2 separate regions of the Homo sapiens genome follow, and region 2 is linked to region 1. Evidence: promoter capture Hi-C in human tissues and cell types (Jung and others, 2019). All regions are on one chromosome and are shown on one strand. Each heading gives the region's core, a stretch centred on a gene start or on the middle of the fragment in contact. The rest is flanking DNA. Distances are from core to core; before and after follow the strand shown. Region 1 holds the start of LCAT (lecithin-cholesterol acyltransferase). Region 2 overlaps CTCF (CCCTC-binding factor).

What was found. The method cuts DNA at HindIII sites, captures the fragments that hold promoters and counts their contacts. A contact is called where the count stands out against the background at its distance.
Region 2: a fragment that was not itself captured here is called in contact with the fragment with the promoter of LCAT in region 1 in 1 of the 25 tissues and cell types used here (dorsolateral prefrontal cortex).

The regions. Positions count from the first base shown.
Region 1 is chr16:67,942,870-67,948,042 of GRCh38, forward strand. It overlaps LCAT (lecithin-cholesterol acyltransferase), which reads right to left and starts at 1,251. Exons shown (of 6, transcript NM_000229.2): 1 at 1,079-1,251; 2 at 187-343; 3 at 1-107. The coding sequence starts at 1,232. It overlaps SLC12A4 (solute carrier family 12 member 4), which reads right to left. Exons shown (of 24, transcript NM_005072.5): 15 at 4,800-4,919; 16 at 4,462-4,566; 17 at 4,068-4,236; 18 at 3,569-3,764; 19 at 3,302-3,471; 20 at 3,082-3,213; 21 at 2,895-3,002; 22 at 2,500-2,684; 23 at 2,218-2,351; 24 at 605-2,062. The coding sequence ends at 1,971. RefSeq lists an enhancer at 1-382. The HindIII fragment of the contact is 35,269 bases long and covers 1-5,173 here.
Region 2 is chr16:67,590,735-67,596,067 of GRCh38, forward strand. The region is part of intron 2 of CTCF (CCCTC-binding factor); the gene reads left to right. Among named protein-coding and RNA genes, the nearest start is that of CTCF, 31 kb to the left of the region's middle. The HindIII fragment of the contact is 6,285 bases long and covers 1-4,626 here.

The DNA.
Region 1 (5,173 bases), core at 1-2,500:
TGCTGCTGTCCAGGTACTCCACAGAGTAGGTCTTGCCAAAGCCAGGGACGCGGATCTGGACACCAGGGGCGTTGGACACGAGCCCAGAGCTCCGGTTGTAGACAACCCTGCGGGGCGGGGGTGCCACTCAGCAGCCAGTAGCCAAGGGGCAGCGTGTTGGGGCTAGGGTGGAGCACATGGCTGTACCTGGTGTTATCGATCCAGCAGTCTACCCCAAGGGGTAGGAACATGTTGAGATCCAGCCAGATGGTGAAGAAGTCCTCTGTCTTGCGGTAGCACATCCAGTTCACCACATCTGGTTTGTCCAGCTTGGCTTCTAGCTGATTCCCCAGGCAGCCGGGCACTGTGAGCAGCAGCCCTCACTCTGGACTCTGGATTCCCCCCGTGACCCTTACCCCCGTCACCCCAGATGCTGCAGTGACCAGACCCACCCCCCACCTCCCATACCCTCAACCCCCAGGTACAAAGCACACTTACCCTCCCCTGCTTACACCCCCTCTCCCTGCTGTCCCCCCAGTAGCCAAAGCCCAGGCTTCCCTGAGGAAGGGAAGGCGCTGAGGTGCTGAGGCCAAGGCCGCTGACCCCTGCCTCTGCAGAGCAAACACCCAGTCTGGCGCTCCTTTATTGCCAAAGTCCAAGGTGGGAACAGATAGGTCTGGGGGCATGGGGGCTGGGCCTAATAGGGGCCGGGCATGGATGGGCCTCTCCTGCTCACCGATCCTGGGCTGGGCATCTTGTCCTTGGTGGGTGGGGGCCAAGGAAGGAGTGGTGGGGCTTGGCCCAGAGTCTGGTGTGGCTGTGACTGACCACAGCTTGTGATGCCCCAGCCAAGACCTCAGGCACACCCCGTCCCCCACTCCGCCCCCCCTGGGTTAGACAACTGAGAGTCACAGTGTGGTGGGAGAAGGGACGTCATTCCTCTAAGGGACAAGCTTTTGGCCCCTCCCCACACCAGGGCAGGTACTTATGTCGGGGCTTATGCAGGGCAGAAGGGCTTTGGCCAGGTCAGCTGCCAGGGGCTGGGGCCCAGGCTCCCCAGGGTCTGGCGTGGTGCATCAGGGGCCTGGTGGGGGCTTACCGAGGATGACGGGCCGTGTGTGGTTACTGAGCTCAGCCTTGGGCGTGGTGTGCGGGGGGAAGAGCACATTGAGGAGCCAGAAGGGGGCGGCAGGAGGGAGCAGCAGCCCCAGCAGCAGCGTCACCCACTGCCATGGGGAGCCGGGCGGCCCCATTCCAGCCCTGGTGCCTACTGCCAGAGAAAGCGGCACTGGGCTGTCCTTATCTGGTGTGGGAGTGGGAGGGGCCCTAGGGCCAGTGGGAGGGACGGCCTGGCCAGTGGGGGTTGTGGCCAGAGATTGCCGGAAAGGGGCACAGCCTCAGGGAGCCGGCTCTGGGCCTGGGTTCAGTTCCGCCTTCTTCTCTTGGCGCCAGGGGAAACAGAGCCGGGGCAGCAGGAGGCCCAGAACTACACAATGTTTTATTGAAAAAGTCAGGCCTCAGCTCAGCTGTCTCCATTCGGCTCAGCTTGGTGGGGGGCCCTGCCCATAGTAGACTGAGCCAGATCTTCCTGCAGGCAGCTGGGCTGGACTCCCTCCCTGGCTACCCTTCCCTTCGTCTCTGATGGTGACATCCAAACAATAAATATGCAATAAATAGCGCTCCTGGGCTGGGCCGGGCCGGCTGCCTTCAAACCCCACTCGGCCCCTACCAGTCTTCTCTGGCCAGGACAGGCCTACTGGGGTGCTAGATAGTAAAGTCCCCAAACATCCCAGGGTCCCACAAGACCTGGGATCCATCTCCATTTTGAGGCCCAGGCCTGGTTTCCAAGGAGACCTAGCAAAGCTGGGTCCAGGACAGGGCCAGGCAAGCAGGGCTGGCAGGTGGGTGCTGGGAAGAGGCTGTTACCCCAGACCACAGCTTGTTATGTCCTGGCCAAGACCTCGACTCCAGGCCACAAGATGACACTGGGCTCAGGAGTAGATGGTGATGACTTCACGGCCACCACCGCGCACCAACAGCACCCGCTCAAGGCCCTCGGTCAGCACCTCGAGGAACTCCATGTCTGCAGGGCCTCAAGTCAAGGAGGCAACAACAGAATCAACGGGCAACCCGGGCCACCTGGGCCATGCCCACCCAGGGGTGCCCAGGAGAGAAGCCGCTGGCTTGACCTCCCATGCTATCCACCTCCCAACTGCCTGCCTCTCCACAAAGGGATACAGTTCTCGTCGCCCTCACTGTTCCTGGGTGGGCCAGGCATGTTTAGGAGAACCAGGCGGGCGTCGTGGGAGCGCGTGACAATGACTTCATTGAGCTTCACAGCAGTGTGCATGCGCCGCACATTGGATTGGTCCCTACACGTAGTGTAGCCAGTCACAGGTCGCCATGAGCCATCCTGCAAGGAGGGTCCCCACCCCTGGCCCATCTAACACTACTTGTCTGCCCCACCCCACCTCCACCCCTAGATTCCAGTGCCGCTGGGGCTGTTTTTGCTGCACTCACGGCTTAATGTGCACCAGCTCCCGGAAATTGTCAGGGGCATGGCTGGGGTCCCAGGTCTCAGTCATGTACTTGTCCCTGGTCCACGTCATCTGGATCTTGTCAGCCCCCACTGCAGACTCATCTTCCTCGTCCGAGTACAGGCTCTCCAGCCGCAGGGCCGAGTGCCGATCCTTGACCAGCTGGGCCTGAGGACAATTGCAGGAGATAGCCTTGGTCCCATAGGAAAAGGGGGATGGGGCCTGTCTGGCCCAATGTGACCACCTTGCCTCCGGGAAATGAGCACTAGCTTGGGTAGGGCTGCGGTGAGTCATTCTGATTCCTCCGCACCCACCGATGCGGTCTCCAAAGGCCTGACCCTGCCACCCGCCCTGGCGTGAACCACAAAGGGCACTGACTTCTCGCTCCCGCTCAGTCTTGGTCAGTCTCATCTGCCGCAGCATCTGCGACCGCTGCTCCATCATCAGCGTCCGCTCGTAGGTGTATGCAGAGATGTCACTGTTATGCTGGGGACAGGGTTGGCCGTGAGGACCCAGCTGCACGGGACATGGTATCCACGGGGCCAGGGCAGGGCAGAGGGCTCACCATCTCCACCACCTCCACCTCGGCCTCAAGGCGCAGATGGTACAGAAAGACAGCCAGGTCCTTCTTCATCTGGATGCTGTTGTCATCCATCTGGGCCACTGTGAAGATGCGCATCCGGCACTTCCTCCAGACCTGAGGCAAGGGACCAGGTGGGCGGTTTGGTCACAGCTGCTCCTCCAAGGGCCTAGCCCCTCTCATCTGCACCCACCCCCTGGTCTACCTTATGCTGGCGCAGCAGGAAGGGCAGAAGCATGAGCATGCCACCATCGTGCACGATCCACCACACGTCTATGTGGCCCTCCAGGTAGCGCTCGTGGTTGCTGGGGTAGAAGGCGATGTTCTTGGGCACGAGCAGGGCCAGGTGGGCAGCCGTAGTGCAGCGCACGGTGTCTGGGGAGGAGGAGCACGGCTGACCACCAGTCTGTGGCCCTCCGCCCACTGCCACCTCACTTCACCCCTGCCCACCAGGCCCCAGGCCTTCACACACCAATGAAGGTCTTCCAGGCACGGGGGTCCTCGCTCTGTCGCCAGCCGTAGGGCCAGCCCAGCACCACGGAGTTATGCCGCATGCCTCCCAGGCCACAGGACTGGATGAGGTGGGCCAGCCCCTCCCGCACCTTGCTGGCCACCACCACCTGGCAGAAGCCCTTCACCTTCTCAATTTCCATCATGTTCTTGATGGTCTGTGGGGAACACACCCAGGGCCAATGGGAGGCCATCAGCTTCCTGCCTCTGGGCTCCCTCCCAAGGCCCCTCGGGAACAAAACGACTTTTGGGTGGAGGAGGGCCTGGGGGCAACAAGCTGCCTACCCAGAGGCCAAGTTTTCAAGATGGGACTGCTGGCTCCCCCTTGTGCCAGCTCTCAGGTGGCAGCAGTGCTGGCTGCCTGGCTGGCCACCCTGGCCAAGACTGGGCCCTCCCCTCCGTGCCAGCTGCAGTCCAGACCCCTGTAGTCTGGCTCAGCTCTCCCTCCCCAAAGCAAGTACCTGCTCGGCGGCCTGAGCCTCGCCATAGCTCTCCAAGAAGCTCCCCTGGATGACAGAACCAACAATGGTCAGGCCCTTGCCAGCCTTGAGCTGGGAGGCGAAGGTGAGGAGCCGCGGGTACTTCACGTGGAGGTCCTCGTCCAGCTTCAGCAGCACCAGCAGCTGCGGCCTGCAGTGGCCGGGTGGGGGGAGCCTGAGACCAGGGCCGGCCGTTCTAGGGAGCCCCTCCTCTTCTTCCCTTCTCGGGTCGTGGTCCCTGCAGGTTTGGGTAGCATGGCCCAGGAGGGTGCCCCGGGCAGCCCCAGGATGGGGAGCCGGCACCTCTCGACCCTCTGACCCCGACAGCGACCCCTAAGAACCTCTGCGCCCTGGCCAGGGTCTGGCGGGAACTCACCGCCAGTTCTTGGTGTGAGGAGGCCCCTCCTCCAGCCGCAACAGCGCGTAGCGGGCAGCGCTCAGGGACAGGCCTCGGATCCCGTCACCCCACTCCTTCTCAGCCCTGCAGATTCCACCACAGCTGGTGAGCCCCTGGTGCCGCCCAGGGGGTTCTGTCTATGTGGATGCGAGGTGGAGGGGTTCTGCCCCTCAAGACCACCCAGGGGTCCTGAGTTACAGTCCCCAGTCCTGGCACCCACGGTGGCCCAGCTCCCTGCCCACCCCAATGCCAGACCACCCTGCCTGCTCGGCCGGGCCCCCTCAGCTGGCAGAGGCCAGGTGGCAGTGCTCACTCACCCTTGGTACTCGATGTATTTGTAGATCATGCCGGCGATGAGCATGGCCACCAGGGCATAGTACCAGGAGGAGACAAACATAAGGGCCAGGCAGAGACTCATGCCCAGGAAGGACAGCGCCCTGGACGAGAGGGGAGGGCAGAGTCAGGGCAGGACCAGGAGGACCCCTGGCCACAGCCTGGCCCATGCCCTGGTAGCCCTGTCAGGTCCCGGGTGGGAGGTCCCAGGTGGGTGGTCAGGTCACTGGGTGTAAGACCTAGGTCCAGTCCCCCGCAGCCCTATAATCTCCCTCCCCACAGTGTTTCAAGAGCTCCCTACCCAGGAAACCCAAGCCTCACCCAGAATGAGGCTCCTGGCCTCCCCAGGGTCTCCCGT
Region 2 (5,333 bases), core at 234-2,733, 350 kb before region 1:
TCAGCTGAGGTCAGAAGCTCAAGCCCAGCGTGGCCAACATGGCGAAACCCTGTCTCTACTAAAAATACAAATATTAGCCGGACATGATGTTTGGTGCCTGTAATCAATCCCAGCTACTTGGGAGGCTGAGGCGGGAGAATCGCTTGAACCCGGGAGGTGGAGGTTGCAGTAAGCTGAGATGGCACCATTGCACTCCAGCCTGGATGACAGAGTGAGACTCTGTCTCAAAAAAAAAAAAAAAAAAAAAAATGCTGGACTGGGTGGCTCACACAAATGCTGTGATTACAGGCGTGAGCCACCGTAATCCCAGCACTTTGGGAGGCCGAGGCGGGCAGATCACTTGAGGTCAGGAGTTTGAGACTAGCCTAGCCAACATGATGAAACCCCATCTCTACGAAAAATACAAAAATTAGCTAGTCGTGGTGATGCGTGCCTGTAATCCCAGCTACTCAGGAGGCTGAGGCTGAGAATTGCTTGAACACAGGAGGCAGAGATTGCAGTGAGCCAAGATCTCACCACTGCACTCCAGCCTGGGTGACAGAGCGAGACTCTGTCTCAAAAAATAAATGAAAATTAATGTCAGAGAAGTGAGAGGTACAGTTGTGATTAAATAGATGAGTGCTTTTTCAGATAAAGGCTGCTTCCGTTCCCAGTCACTGTGAAAGAAATGGTCACTATTATTTTTCTGCTTCTCAGCCCAAGTTATTCTCCCAATTCAACTCCTCCTCATTCTTTATTGTAGTCTACAACTTTCCTGGTACTAGTTCACTGATACTTTGCTTTGATGTATTTTAAGCTCTCAGATAAGATGATGGCGTATATGTTTTCAGGAATAGCAGAGTAAAATGGTTATTTTGTTTAACTTTTAAACCTAGCTTTTACTCTAAAAGAGTTAATAACTTTTATTCGTTTTGGCTAGTGTCCTGCATCTAGTAAAAGTTACTTAGCTTTTCCTTTCATCCTCAGGAAAAACTGATTACTTTTTTTGGGGGGGGGCAGTAAGGGCACAGAGTCTTGCGCTGTCACTCAGACTGGAATGCAGTGGTGTGATGATAGCTTACTGCAGCCTGGGCTCAGGCGATCCTCCCGCCTCAGTCCCGAGTAGCTGGGACTACAGATGGATGCCATCATACCTAGCTAATTTTTTTTTTAATTTTTAATGGAGACAAGGTCTCACTATGTTGCTCAGGCTGGTCTTGAACTCCTGGGCTCAAACGATTCTCTTGGCTCTGCCTCCCCAAGTACTGGGATTATATGTGTGAGCCACTGTGCCCGACCTGATGACTTATAATTGCTTTTTTTCCCCTCCTTGTCCTAATGTCATTTAACATTCTGTATAGTGAGAATACCAGACTAAGCTTTTCAGTCAACATTTTTCTAATGTAAAGATCTATCGACTGGACGCAGTGGCTCACACCTGTAAACCCAGCACTTTGGGAGGATGAGGCGGGCACATCACCTGAGGTCAGGAGTTTGAGACCAGCCTGGCCAACATAGTGAAACCCTGTCTCTACTAAAAATACAAAAATTTGCTGGGCATAGTGGTGTACGCCTGTGATCCCAGCTGCTCAGGAGGCTGAGGCAGGAGAATTGCTTGAACCCTGGAGGCAGAGGTTGCAGTGGCCGGGATTGTGCCACTGCGCTCCAGCCTGGGTGGCAGAGCAAGAATCTGTCTAAAAAAATAAATAAGGCCAGGCACAGTGGCTCATGCCTGTAATCCCAGTAATTTAGGAGGCTGAGGTGGGAGGATCACCAGAGCTCAGAAGTTTGAGACCATCCTGACCAGTATGGTGAAACCCTGTCTCTACTAAAAATATAAAAATTAGCCGGCATGGTGGCATGCGCCTGTAGTCCCAGCCACTCGGGAGGCTGAGACATTAGAATTATTTGAGCCCAGGAGGCGGAAGTCGCAGTGAGCCAAGATCGTGCCACTGCACTGCAGCCTGGGTGACAGAGTGAGACTCCGTCTCAAAAACAACAACATCAAAAAAAGATACTTACAGAGGCCAGGCGTTGGTGACTGGCTCAACGTCAGTAATCTCAGCACTTTGGGAGGCCGAGGTGGGTGGATCACTTGAGCTCAGGAGTTTGAGACCAGCCTGGCCAACATGGTGAAACCCCGTCTCTACTAAAAATACAAAAATTAGCGGGGCACAGTGGCATGTGCCTGTAGTCCCAGCTACTTAGGAGGCTGAGGCAGGAGAATCGGTTGAACCTGGAGGCAGGGGTTGCAGTGAGCCGAGATCGCGCCACTGCATTCCAGCCTGGGTGACAGAGTGAAACTCCATCTGGAAAAAAAAAATTTATATATATATGTATAAATGTTTAATATATATTTTATATTTATATATTTGTATATCTTTTTTATATTTTAATATATGGTTTTTAATATATATTTTATACATATAAAGAGAAAGGTGCAAGGTATCTTCTGTTCTCTTAAAATTTTTTACAATTTCAACTTTTATTTTAGATTCGGGGGTACATGTCCAAGTTTTTTTGTGTACATGGGTATATTGTGTGATTATGAGGTTTGGGGGTACAATTGTTGCTCATCACCCAGGTAATGAGCATAGTACCCAATGATTAGTTTTGCAGCCCTTACCCCGTTTTCTCCCTCCCCCTCCTAATCCCTAAGGCCTATTGTTATGTTTATGTCCATGTGTACCCAGTGTGTAGCTTCCACTTGTAAGTGAGAACATGAGATACTTGGTTTTCTGTTCCTGCCTTAATTCGCTTAGGATAATGACCTCCAGCTGCATCTGTGTTGCTGTAAAGGACATTATTTCATTCTTTTTTATGGCTGTGCGTTCTCTGCCTTCTTATGATGTCTGAGGGTTCGTATCAACCTCTGTTAGGCCATTTGTTAGGTACCCTTCATGTTGACTTTCAGAATTTCTGTGGCTTGTGAAAGTTCATGGGGTCTTAGAGCTGCTAATGTATTTCTTACCAAGAGAATGCAGATAGACTTCTGATCTCCCCAGGAAATAAGTTGGGGTTTTTAGCAATCAGTTGCCCCTTATAATGGATAGTAAGCAGTATATTAAAAAGTTGTGGGTTTAGTTATAAAATAGACTGCTGGAAATCATTCTCTTCTACTGTCTTATTCTCAGTACACATGGATTATTCCTAGTATAATAACCAGTCTACTTAACTGACTAAACTCTGCAGTGGTGAGTATAAAAGGTTGTTTTGGTTGTTTTCCTTTGGAAATTGTCTGACATATTTGCTATGTAGTCATAATCATAGGTGATAAATTACTAAACCTTAATATCTTCAAAAATTAGTGTATTCACAATTAGCTTCCATTTTTACATGGCAGGATTTTAAAAAATCTAACCTGTAATTGTGTTTTTGGGAATTTTTATTTTTCTCTATTAAGAAGTGACACAGGCTGAGCATGGTGGTTTATGCCTGTAATCCCAGCACTTTGGGAGGCCACTTGAGCTTAGGAGACCAGCCTAGGCAATACAGTGAGATCCCATCTCTGTAAAATAAAATGAACCAAGTATGGTGGCACATGCTTGTAGTCCCAGCTACTTGGGAGGCTGAGGTAGGAGGATCACTTGAACCCAGGATGTCAAGGCTGTAGTGAGCCTTGATTGTGCCACTGCACTCCAGCCTGAGCGACAGGGTGGGACCCTGTCTCAAAAAAAAAAAAAAAAGGTGTAAGAATTGACACAGGCTAGTTGCAGTGGCTCATGCCTATATTCTCAGCATTTTGTGGGGGATGAAGTGGGAGGATCCCTTGAGCCCAGGGGTTCGAGAACAGCCTGGGCAACATAATGAAACTTTGTCTTTCAAAGTTTCTAAACTTTGCATCACTAAAAAAATAGTGATGCGTAAAAAAACTTCGCATCACTAAAAAAATAGTGATGCAAAGAGAGCAATAAAGGTAAATTCGTATACTTAGGCTTTCACTTAGCATATAAACAGTGTTTTGTTTTTCCATGTTCCCTTCCTGCTCTTGTCCTGTGCAGGAACCATCTATACCTGTTTCATCTGACAAAGTCAGTGAGAATTCCTGTTTGTCTAACACTGTTTTGTATCCATTGCTGTAGAGACTACAGAAACAAAAGGCATAGTTACTGCCCTTAAAAAGCTAATACTGGGGGAAAAACACATAGAACATTATGCTACAGTTAAAACTTGTGGTCAGTTTGTACTGGTCAAGGTTGAGATGACTTTGATTTAGAAGGTGACTTGAGCTGGGAAGGGACAAGACATCAGATACTGATATAGAAGATGCCCAGCAGGAAATAGTCAAAGGTGAGGTTGGGTGGGTGGAAGGGAATGGGAACAAACTGTACAGAGCTCTGGGAGCTAAGATGGAGAATTTGGACCTGATTCAGTCAGCATCACCAATCATGAATTTTTGGAATTTTTGAGCCTCATTTCAGGAAGGTTTAATGTGGCGTCAATATTCTGGATAGAACAAGACTGGCCAGCCTGCAAAGCTGTTCTGTCTCTTCCTACCACCCTCCCCCACCCTTCCTTTGACTCACCTCAAACTTCTGGGCCCAAGCCATCCTCCTGCTTCAGCTTCTCAAGTAGCTGGAACTATAGGTACAAACCACCATGTCTGGCTTGTTCTGTTTCTTTTTTACTCTTTCTCCTTCATTCCTGGATTTAGTCAGTCACCAGCTTCTGTCAACTGATTGTACCTTCATCGTACAGAAATCCAGTACTTTATCAGAGAAGTCATTTTTGTGGGGAAAATTTATCAAAGGTTTAGATAAGATTAGATTCTAGGAATCTAATTAGAAAGCTAAGAAGCCAAAAAAGCATATATTGTTGAGTTAACCATGTTGAATGTCTTCTTGGCTGGCGGTATAAGGATACAGAGGATGGCAGTTGGCACCATGCATGTATTGTTTCATTGGGTTTTTATGATAGCCTGTGAAATGGGTACCATTTCCTTATTTTATAGAAAAGAAAACTGCAGCGAGAAGGTAGCATATCTCACCCCAGGTCACAATGCTAATTAGAAAAACCAGAATTGGGATGCACGTCTCTGACTCTTAACAGTGATTCCATTCTGCCTCTCCTGTCCGCCCTCCCTTTTTAAATATAGAACAAACATTTTCTCCATATTATGTATTAAAGCACTATTTTTGATGTCTACGATTCACACCACCAATTACCTTCAGTAGAATTGTGCTAGTTTCACTGCACCAAGGACAACATTGGGGAGTATCTTTCTTTTTTTTTCTTTTCCTCTTTCTTTTCTTTTTTTTTGAGACAGAGTCTCTCTCTGTAGCCAGGCTGGAGTGCAGTGGCATACTTTCGGCTCACTGCAACCTCCACCTCCTGGGTTCAAGCAATTCTCCTGC